Regions from separate parts of the Homo sapiens genome. Here region 2 is linked to region 1. The links are contacts of gene promoters, found by promoter capture Hi-C in blood cells and fetal thymus (Javierre and others, 2016). All regions are on one chromosome and are shown on one strand. Each heading gives the region's core, a stretch centred on a gene start or on the middle of the fragment in contact. The rest is flanking DNA. Distances are from core to core; before and after follow the strand shown. Region 1 holds the start of HEPN1 (hepatocellular carcinoma, down-regulated 1). Region 2 has its middle 20 kb from the start of PKNOX2-DT.

Region 1 (6,080 bases), core at 3,487-5,986:
TAAACTGATGACAACTTAACAGTGATTGCATAAACAAACTAACAAGTAAAGAGAAAACTGATAAAAACTCTACACTTTAACATCATGCCCCTACTTTTAACTTTTTGTTGTTTCTACTTATATCTTATTGTACTATGTCTTGAAAAGTTGTAATTATTATTTTTGATCAGTTCATCTTTTAGTCTTCCCACTCAAGATATGAGTAGCTTACACACCACAATTACAGTGTTTTGATATTCTGTCTTTTTGTGTACTTACTATTACTAGTGAGTTTTGTGCCTTCGGATAATTTCTTATTTTTTATTAAGGTGCTTTTCTTTCAGATTAAAGAACTCCCTTTAGCTTTCTCATAGGATAGGTCTGGTGTTGATGAAATCTCTCAGCTTTTGTTTGTCTGGGAAAGTCTTGAATTCTCCTTCATGTTTGAATAATATTTTCACCAGACATACTATTCTGCAATAAAAGTTCTTTTTCCTTTGGCACTTTCAATATATTATGTCACTCTTTCCTGGCCTGCAAGGCTTCCACTGAGAAGTCTGCTGCTAGGCATATTGAAGCTCCACTATATGTTATTTGTTTCTTTTCTCTTCCTACTTTTAGAATCCTTTCTTTATTATTGACCTTTGGGAGTTTGATTATTGAATGTCTTGAGTTAATGTTATTTGGGTCAAATCTGCTCAGTAACCTTCTTGCACTTGAATATTGATATCTTTCTCTTGGTTTGGGAAGTTTTCTGTTATTATCCCTTTGAATAAACTTTCTACCCTCATCTCTCGATTTTCTCTTGAAGGCCCAAAACTCTTAGATTTGCCCTTTTGAAGTTATTTTCTTGATATCGTAGGCATACTTTCATTCTCTTCTATTCTTCTTCCTTTTGTCTCCTATAACTGTGTATTTTCAAATAGCCTGTCTTCAAACTCACTAATTCTTTCTTCTGCTTGATTAATTCCACTATTAACAGATTCTGATGTGTTCTTCAGTATTTCACTTGCAGTTTTTAACTCCAGAATTTCTACTGGATTCTTTTAAATTATTTCAATCTCTTTGTTAAATTTATCTGATAGGATTCTGAATTCCTCTCTGTGTTCTCTTGAATTTCTTTGAGTTTCCTCAAAACAGCCATTTTGAATTATCTGTCTGAAAGGTCACACATCTGTGTCTCTCTGGGATTAGTCACCGGTGACTTATTTAGTTCATTTGGTGAGGTCATATTTCCTGAATGGTCTTGATGCTTGTGGATGTTCATTGGAGTCTGGGTTTGTTTGCACCCTTCCTTCCTGGGAAGGCTTTCTAGGTATTCAAAGGAACTTGGGTGTTGTGATTTAGTTTTTGGTGACTGCAGCTGTATCTGCATTAGGGGGCACCCCAAGTCCAGTAACACTGTGGCTCCTGCAGACTTGAAGAGATACCACCCTATGGTCTTAGATAAGATCTAGAAGAATCCTCTGGATTATCAGACATAGACTCTTATTCTCTTCCTTTTCTTTCTCCAAAACAAGCAGTCTCTCTCTCCTCTCCTCTCCTCTCCTCTCCTCTTCTCTCTCCCTTTCTCTCTCTCTCTCCTTCTCTCTCTGTTTGTGCTGAGCTGCCTGGAGCTGGAAGAAGGGTGACACAAGTATCCCTGTGGCCACCATCACTGAGACTGTGCTGCGTCAGACCTGAAGCCAGCACAGCACCAGGTGTCACCAAAGGCCTGTGGTAACCACTGTCTGGCTACCAGCTATGTTCGCTCAAGGCCCTAAGGCTCTAGAGTCAGCAGGTGGCAATGCCAGCCAGGCTTGTATCCATTACTTCAGGGTGCCAAGTTTCCACCAGTCCTGGGCAGGTCCAGAGATGTCACCTGGGAGCCAGGGCCTGGGGTAAGAAACTTTAGGAATCTACCTGGTGCTCTATTTTACTCCAGCTGAGCTGGCACCCAAGCCCAAGGCAATGTCTTTCCCACTCTTCCCTCTCCTTTCCTCAAGCAGAGGTGTCTCTTCCCTTGGTCACCACTGCCCCAGGCCCATGGTCAATACTGCCTGGCTACTGCTGATGTTCATTCATGGATCAAGGGCTCTTGAGTCAGCTTATGAATGCTGCTAAGCATAGGACTCTCCTTTCTAGGCAGTGGGCTCCACTATGGCCACTAGGGCAGGTCCAGAAATGCCATACAAGAGCTAAACCCTGGAATTGGGGACCCCAAGAGCCCACTTGGTTCTCTACCGCACTGAGGCCACACCGGTACCTAAGCTGCAAGACAAAGTCCCCTTTATCCTTCCTTCAACTTTTCTCAAGCAGAAGGAGCCCCTTCCCATAGCCACCACAGCTGGAAAGGTGCTTGGTGACATCTGAAGCCAACATGTCTCTTAGTCTCACCCAAGGCCAATGGCAAGTACTGCTTGGGTTCTATTGCAAATTATTGAGGGCCCTTGGGCTCTAGAGAGAGCAGGTGATGAATGCTGCCAGGACTGGGTCATTCCCTTCAAACCAATGGGTTCCCTTCTGGCCCAGGGTGTCTAGAAATGTTGTCTGGGAGCTAGGGCCTGAAATGGGGGACTCAGGACTCTGTCTTATGCCCTATCCTACTGTGGCTGAGCTTGTCTTATGCCCTGTCCTACTGTGGCTGAGCTGATATCCAAGTTGCAATACACAGTCCTGTTTACTCTTCCTGCTCCTCTCCTCCAACCACAGAAAGGAGTCTTTTTCAAAGCTGCAAGCTGTGATGCCTGGTGTTGGCAGAGGGATGATGCAAGCACTCCCTTGGCTGCACCAGCTGGTGTCTCACTAGATCATATGCTCAAGTCCACTGGCTTCAAGCCCAGCACAGCATCAGGAATCCCCCCTAGAATTGCAGTCCTTGTGTCCTAGACAGACTTTTAAAAGTTTATTTAGGACCCCAGAGCACTTTAACCCATGGTCGTGAGTCTTTTTGGAATTCAGGTTCCAACCACTGGGATGTGTAATTCCTCTCTGGCGAGGGCTGGTCTAAATGCTCCTTCTGTGGGTGCTGGCTGAGTTCTGCCTGGTGTTGTTTCTCCCTGTGACAGGGCAGCACTGCGTTCCAATGCAAAGCCCCACAATGACTGCACTCTCCCTCCCGCAAGTGCAGAGATTCTCTCTCTGTTCCATGCGGCAGCTGCCGGGTGATGAGGGAGGGGTGGTGTCAGCAATTCAAGACTGTCTTTCTTACCTTCTTCAGTGCCTCTTTCAGTGATATGAAGTTAAAACCAGGTATTGTGATCACTCATTGGATGTTTGGTTGTTATGAGGGTGCTTTTTTTGTGTGGACAGTTGTTCAATCTGGTGTTTTTGCAGGAAGACAATCAGTGAAGGCTTCTATTCAGCCATCTTGCTTCACCTCCCTTGGTAATCTCATATTTAATGAGTGCTAAGTACTTTGAGCTCACTGTGCTTTTAAATTTTGTTTTACTTCTGACTGCTTAAAAATTTCCCCCATCTCTGGCAGGGAAGTGGCTCATGCCTGTAATCCCAGCACTTTGGGAGGCCAAGGTGGGCGGATCATGAGGTCAGGAGTTTGAGATCAGCCTGGCCAACATAGTGAAACCCTGTCTCTACCAAAAATACAAAAATTAGCTGGACATGGTGGCACGTGCTTGTAGTCCCAGCTACTCGGGAGGCTGAGGCAGGAGAATCACTTGAACCCAGGAGGCAGAGGTTGTAGTGAGCCTAGACTGCGCCATTGCACTCCAGCCTGGGTGACAAGAATGAGACTCTGTCTGAAAAAAAAAAAAAAATTCCCCCATCTCTTGAAGCCAGCAATGCAAAACAAATATCATTTAAGCAAGACCTAGTTGTTTTGAAACAGGAAGACCTCTCAAACATCTAGTCTCAAGTATTTAGCAGAGAAGTTCCACATATCACTTTTTACCTGTTGCAATCTGGCTTTAACCCCTACTACATGTCTGAAACTACTTATGCCAAGTCACTCAATGTTTTCATTGTTGCCAAATTTAACATGCACTTTTAACTTCATTTCATATGTGAGCCCCCTGCCCTTGTAGTCCCGAATGCTCCCTTTTTCTTGAAACTCTCTTGTTCTTTTGATTGTGTGATATAGTTATCTCCTATATATTCTCCTATCTTGCTGGCTGTGCCTTTTAAGCCTTCTTGGTGAAGTCCTTTTAAATTTTCTACACATACTGATGCCTCAGAAATCTATCTGCAGCTTTCTTCACCTTCTACTTTGTATACTTTCCTGAAATAATTTCATCAACTGCTAGGCTCAGTACCCTGAATTCCCCCCCATCGTGTCTTGCACTTCCAAGCTTTTATACATGCTTCTCCCTCTGCTTGGAGTGTGTCCTCTCATACTTTTAAAAACCAGATTAACTAACAAGTCTTTCTAAGAAAGACTCAACTCAGGTCTGTTCTCCTCCAAGATGCCTTTGCTGACATCTAATCTACATGCTCCCAGAGCACCTTGTATCTACTTCTGCCATTGCATTTTACACACTATATTGTAATCTGTTTACTGATCTGTCTTCCTGACATAGTTATGCTGTATCAGCAGTGTCTAGCACAGGGCCTAGTCCATGGTAGGTAAACAAATGTTTGTCGAATAAATAAAAGAACACCTGAATAAGTAAATGAATGAACGGGTAAGTGATTTTGGAACGGACAATTTGGGGTTTGGAAAGAGGGTAAAGGAGGTGAAAGGAGAAGAAGAGAAATGACTGGTATATTTAAGCAGCTTGTTTTGTTACCCTTGTTTATGTGGAATAAAGTTGTCATTTCATTTCATCAAAAGTTTATTGAGCATCCAGTATGTGCTAGGCACTCTGCTGGATGCTAGTAATACAAAGATGAAGATGAAAACAACACAAAAACAAACCCCACTTCCTTACTTACCCCTCCCCACCCCCAATTTAAGGCAGATTTGGCTTAAGCCTGGCAAGCTGGCCCCTCAGGGATTCAGCACCAGGGTATGGCATGTTCTCATCTCACCCTAACCTTCACCTGTGCATCTCAAGGCTGACCAGCAGGTACTCCTTATCCAAGTCCTGCTGCCTCTTCCACCTTCTTGAGAAACTTTTCCCCTACATGCATTATCTCATTATGGATGAGGCACCTGGGAAGTTTAGGGGAGCTGCGAAGGCACACCTGCTCAAATGAGCCTGGGGAAGTGCCGAGGGACAGGGAGCTGAGACAGGCATGCTGTGGGGTTCAGGGCAGAGGGGGCAAACTAGAAATGTCAGTGCCTTTGGGGCTGAGACAAAACTTGACCTGGTGTGGAGGTGATGGGTAACTGGGGCCTTGGAATTGCTCCATGGGTTGATGGCGAATCAGAGCTGGAGTTTAGGAGACTAGGGATGCAAGGACCCTTGGAGGCATTAAGGAGGAGGGAATGGAATACACAGAGGGCCTCCTTCTCTTTCAGCTTTTTAATTGCCCTCTCTCCTCACACAGTAGATTACTGCCACTCCTATGAACTGTTCAATAGGCGGTGGCATGGGCATGTCCTGGCTACACAGCGGCCCAGCCTCTTTATTTTGATGTTAGTGTGATTAGGGAGTCTGCCCTTTTTCTGTGCCCTGGGACCTGAGCATGTGGGAGCAGGGCAGATGGGTGGCAGGAGGCCAGGGGTTGGATCATGTTCCCCCCAAATGCTGGGAAGCAATAAGCCTCCTCCTCCCCCCACCATTTCTCTGGAGATTAGGACTTATTCTCACAGCTGGAGGAAGCTCAACAACTTTCCTGAGGACAATGATTGTTTGAAAGGCTTGTTTTGTAAGGAAGCCAGGAGGAATATATGAGTTTGATGAGCTAAAACAGTTCCTCATTTGGTCTAGTTTTCGGGCCAGGGGAGTAAGTGAAATTCACTTCTCTATAAGAATAAGCCCATCCATCTCTTTTATTCATGAACAGAGACAGAAAGAGTGCTTGGCATGGCATGCCTCCGAGGGAGGCTGTGGGAGGAGGCCAAGCTGGCAGGCTCGGGTTCTTTGCCCTTGCTAGCGCCCAGGTCAGAGGGAAAAGGAATGTACTCGTACCCTTCCCTCACCACCTTGTAGGTCCCCAGGTACCAGGTGCCCAGGGAAGAAGGCCTTCACAATGATCCCCCCAGCTCAGAACAGCCCCTG
Region 2 (6,080 bases), core at 2,343-4,842, 230 kb after region 1:
TTTTCCATCTTCCTGCCAGGCCCCGGCCGGGCTTCCCAGCCTCCTCGTTAGCCTCTGTGAAAAATTAAAGCCCCAATAATCAAATCAACCCTTGTAAATGCTCTAAAAGCCGCTCCAGAGCACCAAGGAGCCAGCAAACCCCAGACCCAAATCCATGTCAAATTTCATAGATATAATTTAAGCAGGGATCAAAACCCACACTAACCTAGTAACTAAGGCTGCTCAAAATGCACTTTATAGTCCATCTGCCTCTCTGCTTCAGGGAGTCTGTATTAAATTTATTGCAAAGTAAAACAAATAAACCCAGGCAAAGGCAAGATGGAAATCTGCATACTGTCAGAGAATTAGCAGCCCTCTCGGGTTAGGAAGGCTGCCTCTCAATTTGCATCTCTAAGGAGTTGTGACTGGGCTGGGGGGCTGGGATGGTCGGGGCAGGACGGAGACTCGGAGCAGGCCTGCCCCCTGCTGGCTGACTGTAGAACTACAACCCTCTGGCCGCGGTGGTGGGCTCTGCAGGGCTCGCCCCGCCAGCTTTTGAAAGACAATCTGCAGCTGAAATAAATGTTGAAAAGGTGTGGAATTGGAAGAGCACGTAGTAGAAAGAGGGGAGGGAAGGGCTCTGTGGGGAAGAGATCCTCATTTCTGAACATAAAGCTTGAGGAAGGCGGGAACTTGAAGTGGGTGGATATAGAGTTTCAGAGCTGTCTTTTCTGTTGTAGGAACAGGAGACTGCGGTGCATTTCTTGACTCCTCTTCCCCTTCTTTTCCTTCTCCCTTTCCCTTGCTCTCCATAATCACAAAACGCAGAAGACTGGAGTGCAGGCGGCAGGGGTCCTTGCATGGCACTGTTGGCTTTGCTGTGTGACCCTTGGAGAGAGCTGTGCCTGAGACCAGGGTGAGGCCTTGCTTGCAGGGTGGTGCTGGCGGGTTGGCGCCTGTGTGGCTGGAGACGGGGTGCTTCCTGAAATTCCGCTTCACCCCAGGCCTGGCACTGCTCAGTCGGCTCACCTGTGGATAGAGAGGGCCTCTGAGGCTCCTTTCAGAGTGAATATCTGAATTTGATGACTCTGGTTGAAGAGCTCAGGCATCAGTCACAGACTTTCCAGGGAAGCTCCCAGGATCCCCGATACTCTCCTAGGATATTCCCATCATAACCTTCAGCACTGGCTCCAGTGGTACCCTCTCTAGATTGAGGCTCCCCCTGACTTCTTTAGTCAGAGATGGGCTGTCTTCCTTGTACTCCTTTTATAGGTAGGTAGATGGTAGGTAGATAGGTAGACAGATAGATGTAGATATATTGATATACTTATAATCACGTTGTAATAATTTATTTATCAACCCCATCCCCTAGAATGCAAAGTCCTTGAGCTCCATGGACAAGGGGAAGGAGTAAGGCCTGGTGAGTGTCATGGCCAGTCTCAGTGTCTACCCGCTCCCCAATTCCTGCTTTTCCCAGCCAGCACCTGAAACACAGTATGTGTCAAATGAACGAAAGAATGAATGAATAAAGAATAAAGTGGCAGGCCGGGCGCGGTGGCTCACGCCTGTAATCCCAGCACGTTGGGAGGCCGAGGCGGGTGGATCACGAGGTCAGGAGCTCGAGAACATCCTGGCTAACATGGTGAAACCTCGTCTCTACTAAAAACATAAAAATTAGCTGGGCGTGGTGGCACGCACCTGTAGTCCCAGCTACTCAGGAGGCTGAGGCAGGAGAATTGCTTGAACCTGGGAGGCTGAGGTTGCAGTAAGCCGAGATTGCACCACTGCACTCCAGCCTGGGTGACAGAGCGAGACTCCATCTCAAAATAAATAAATAAATAAATAAAATAAAGTGGCAGAAGATGATGAAGGTTTGGCTGCACAGTTGACCTAGAAACCTGGCTTTGCCCTTGGCTTCCTATTGTATCCCTTATTCTTTGATTACCCTCATGATAGTCCTAGCTTGTCTACCTCCTGAGTGGTCCTCAAACTCATCTGCTTCTCCTCCTTTCCCTCAAGAGGCAGCCCCGCTAAGTGTGAACAGCAGAGAACATGGGATCAGGAAGACCTCAGTTCTAGTCCTGGCACCCATGCTTCACCTAGCCAGGAGAACCTAGCCAAGCCTCAGTTTCCATCTTTTTTTTTTTTTTTTTGGACAGCACAGCGTAGTGGTTAAGAGCATAGACACCCAAGCTAGACTGCCCGGGTTTTTTTTTTTTTTTTTTTTTTTGAGACAGGGCCTCCCTCTGTCACCTAGGCTGGAGTGCTGTGGTGAAATCTTGGCTCACTGTAACCTCCACCTTCTAGGTTCAAGCGATTCTCCTGCCTCAGCCTCCCAAGTAGCTGAGACTACAGGCACCCACCACCACGCCTGGCTAATTTTTTGTATTTTGGTAGAGATGAGGTTTCACCACGTTGCCCAGGATGGTCTCGAACTTCTGAGATCAGGCAGTCTCGGCCTCCCAAAGTGCTGGGATCACAGGCGTGCACCACTGCCCCCAGCCAACTGCCTGGGTTTTAATCCTGCCTCCTCCATTTGTTAGCCAAGCGGCCCTGGACAAGTGACTATTTAATCTCTCTGTGCTTCAGTTTCCTCATCCATAAACTAGAATTAATAGAATCTACTTCATAGTGTTGTCGTGAGGATTAAAAGAGCTAATACACATAAAGCCCCTAAAACAACACCTGGGACATGGTTAGTATTAACTAACGCAATAAACACTAGCAATTATTAATGAAAAGCAAAGGAATTTTATAGAACTGAAGGCAAGCACCAGAAGAGGCAGTCCCAGAAGAGGCTTTGAAAGGTAAGGAGGGAGCTTATGGATGAACAAGCGAAGCATTTCCACAAGGAACACACGCAGTGATGCTGAGGAATGATGCAGCCAATCAGGTGGCAGGGAAAAGCTCACGACTTCTTGGAACCTGCAGAGCCCAAGTTGGCATTTTTTCCAGCAGAATCAGAAGCATCAATGGGGTGAGTCCGAAGTGTCGAAAAGTGGAGCAGCTTGTTCTCTGGGATCTTCAGCGTGTTTGCTTATGAAATGTCAGCCACGCTGGCTCCCCCGACCTCCTCAGCCTCATTCCACCCCCTCTTCATCTCACCCTCCAGGCTCCATCCATAAAGAAACGTGTTCAGGTCCTCTGACAGAACTTGCTCCTCTTCCCTCAGGGTCTTCACACATGTGGGCGTCCTGCCCTGAGTACTCTCTCCTGTTTGCACCTGTTAATCCTCCCTTCAGGTCTATATTTGGATGGCAGGTTCTCTGGAAAACCTTCCATCCCCCTGTAGCCTGGGTGGGGCGGCCCTAATCTGCGCTCCCATAACACTGTGCCCTTCCCTGCTTACCCTTGTATCTGTCAGCTCCAGCTATGTAGCAAAATGCCACAGACTGCGGGGCTTAAACAACAGACATTTATTTTCTTACAGTTCTGGAGGCTGGATGTTCAAGATCAACGTGTTAGCAAGGTTGGTTTCCGGGGAAGCCTCTCTGTTTGGCTTGTAGGTGGCTGCCTTCTCCCTATGCCCTCCCATGACCTCTTTGTGCACAGGTTGGCAGAATGAGGAGGAGGGAATCTCTGTTTTTTTCTCTTTTTATAAGGACACCAGTCCTATTGGATTAGACCCCCACCCTTGTAACTTTAACCTTAATTACTTCCTTAAAGACCCTATCTCTGCAGGACACGGTGGCTCACACCTGTAATCCTAGCACTTTGGGAGGCTGAGGCAGGCAGATCACTTGAGGTCAGGAGTTTGAGACCAGGCTGGCCAACCTGGTGAAACCCCGTCTCTACTAAAAACACAAAATTAGCCGGGTGTGGTGGCGGGTGCCTGTAATCCCAACTACTCGGGAGGCTGAGACAGGAGAGTCACTTGAACCAGGGAGGTGGAGGTTGCAGTGGGCCGAGATCACGCCATTGCACTCCAGCCTGGGCAACAAGAGTGAAACTCCATCTTAAAAAAAAAAAAAAAAAAAAAGAAGACTTATCTCTAAATACAGTCACATTAGTGGTTAAGGTTTCAACATATGAATTTGGTGGGGGGTGCAATTCAATCCATAACACCCCATTAGAAGATAAATTCCACGAGGGTAGGGCCTTGTCTATGGCTATGTGTTCCCCAGCACTGAGGCCTCACCCTGTCTCCTCATGATTCTCTAATTTCTACAGAACCTGCTCATAGCAAGGGTGCAATAAATATCTGTTGGGTGAATGAATGAATGAGTCAATTACTTGTGATGACAGCAGGAGTTTGGGAAACATAAGAACTCATAATCTAGTTTTAGGTTGTCTTTTTACAGAAGAGGAAACTGAGGCATGAGGATCCTTGCTAGTTCGTGGCAGAATGAGAGTTGGCAGTCAGATTCTCTGTCTCCCCCGCTACTCTGAGTCCATGCTTTTTTCATCTGGACCAAGAGTTGTCAGATAGCTGTATAAAACTGCCGGTTAAAAAAAAATCCTTGTCCAGACTTTCCTTAGACAAAAAAGTCTTTGGGCTGGGGGTAGTGGCTCATGCCTGTAATCCCAGCACTTTGGGAGGCCGAGGTGGGAGGATCACTGAGGTCAGGAGTTCGAGACCAGCCTGGCCAACATGGTGAAACCCCGTCTCTACTAAAAACACAAAAATTTGCTGGGCGTGGTGGCGGGCACCTGTAATTCCAGCTACTGGGGAGGCTGAGGCAGAAGAATCACTTGAACCCGGGAGGCAGAGGTTGCAGTGAGCCAAGATCGCGCCATTGCACTCCAGCCTGGGTGACAGAGTGAGACTCCATCTCAAAAAAAAAAAAAAAAAAAAAAAAAAAAAAAAGAAAAGAAAAAGAAAAAGAAAAAAGAAAGAAAAGTCTTTGGTTTTTCATTGACAAGCAAATGAAACTGTCTCTCTGAGGGTCTCCTCTCATCCTAGCAACTTAGTCTGCTAGGACTAAGCAATCTGTTAAGGCACTTGAAATGTGTGTCCTCCTTCCCCTCTCATTAGAGGCCTGGAATTTGGTCTGGGTGAGGTCAGGGATTTCCTTGCCACAGGCTTTGATTCTGAGCTGACTACCCAGGTGTGTGGCTCTTTAGAGTCCTGCCTCTCTGCTAATGGGTTTTGTTAACTGTTTGTCATTTGCTTATGCAAATCTACCTCTTTCTGCATTAAAATGAACCCAATTATAAAGTGAAATTTCACAACTAAACCACTTAGTGAAGGACATTAAGCGACCAGAAGGAATTGATTTGTAAAAACTTCAGCGATAATTACCAAATGTTTCTGAAATGTGACTAAGTTCTAGGTTTTTCTTTAAACAAACACACATACTTGCACATTTTCATATATGTACTGCACAGACACTTGCACGTATTTTCACACACCTGGTTTCCATCTTCTCACTATGGGACTTGTTCTTGCTCCTTCTCTGGGTCTAAATTTTCCCCAAATAGAGGAAATTCCACCAGCCATCAGATCATGTCTGCAAAGTTCTTGGAAACCTTCCAAAAGAAATGGCCACTGGGCCGAGGAAGCTGGGGCGGGGGGCAGGAAAATAGAAGAAGGCATAGTGGTTTTAATAAAGTCTCTTGACCACTTTGGTGATTGATTGATATATTTTGGCATTTGCTTCCCTGCTCTGCTGTAATCGATAGCAGTTGTAGGCCGAGGAGCAGGAAAGGGTGGGAACGTGGGATGGGGGCAGCATTGATTGATCTTTACGGGAAACAGCCTTGCCTGGTGATTGCAGTGCTATGGCACAAGAAACAGGACCTTGTGGTCCCAGGGAAAGGTGACTTTCCTTATACCCCCTCCCTCCCCTGCCAGGCAGGATGGCATGGCGTGCAGAAACTTGGAGATGGATAAGGATACACTGGCATCCACCTAAAAAAATGAGCCATGCTGGTGTTTGGGAGAGCCAAAGTCACACTCACCTCTCCCCTTGCACCCTCAGTTCGAGCGCAGAAATCATAGTCTCCTGGGCTGCTGCAGGACAGGGTGGGAAGAGTCTTTAAGGGTGAAGAGGTGATGAAATGCTTACGGGTTCCAGGTTACATCTATATCCAGGAATGACTCCAACTCCCTTGGCAGCATGCTGCTGCTCAGACCGTATAATGTAGAGGTGACTTCAGCA

The links. The method cuts DNA at HindIII sites, captures the fragments that hold promoters and counts their contacts. A CHiCAGO score of 5 or more calls a contact.
Region 2: a contact is called between a fragment that was not itself captured here and the fragment with the promoter of HEPN1 in region 1, in 1 of 17 cell types (naive CD4 T cells). The highest score is 6.0, in naive CD4 T cells.

Annotation. Positions count from the first base shown.
Region 1 is chr11:124,914,514-124,920,593 of GRCh38, forward strand. HEPN1 (hepatocellular carcinoma, down-regulated 1) reads left to right here and starts at 4,737. Exons shown (of 1, transcript NM_001037558.4): 1 at 4,737-6,080. The coding sequence starts at 5,238. The coding sequence ends at 5,504. HEPACAM (hepatic and glial cell adhesion molecule) reads right to left here. Exons shown (of 7, transcript NM_152722.5): 7 at 4,692-6,080. The region is part of intron 1 of LOC107984406 (a long non-coding RNA gene); the gene reads left to right. The HindIII fragment of the contact is 3,231 bases long and covers 4,264-6,080 here.
Region 2 is chr11:125,141,452-125,147,531 of GRCh38, forward strand. No RefSeq gene overlaps it. Among named protein-coding and RNA genes, the nearest start is that of PKNOX2-DT, 20 kb to the right of the region's middle. RefSeq lists an enhancer at 340-896. The HindIII fragment of the contact is 5,881 bases long and covers 653-6,080 here.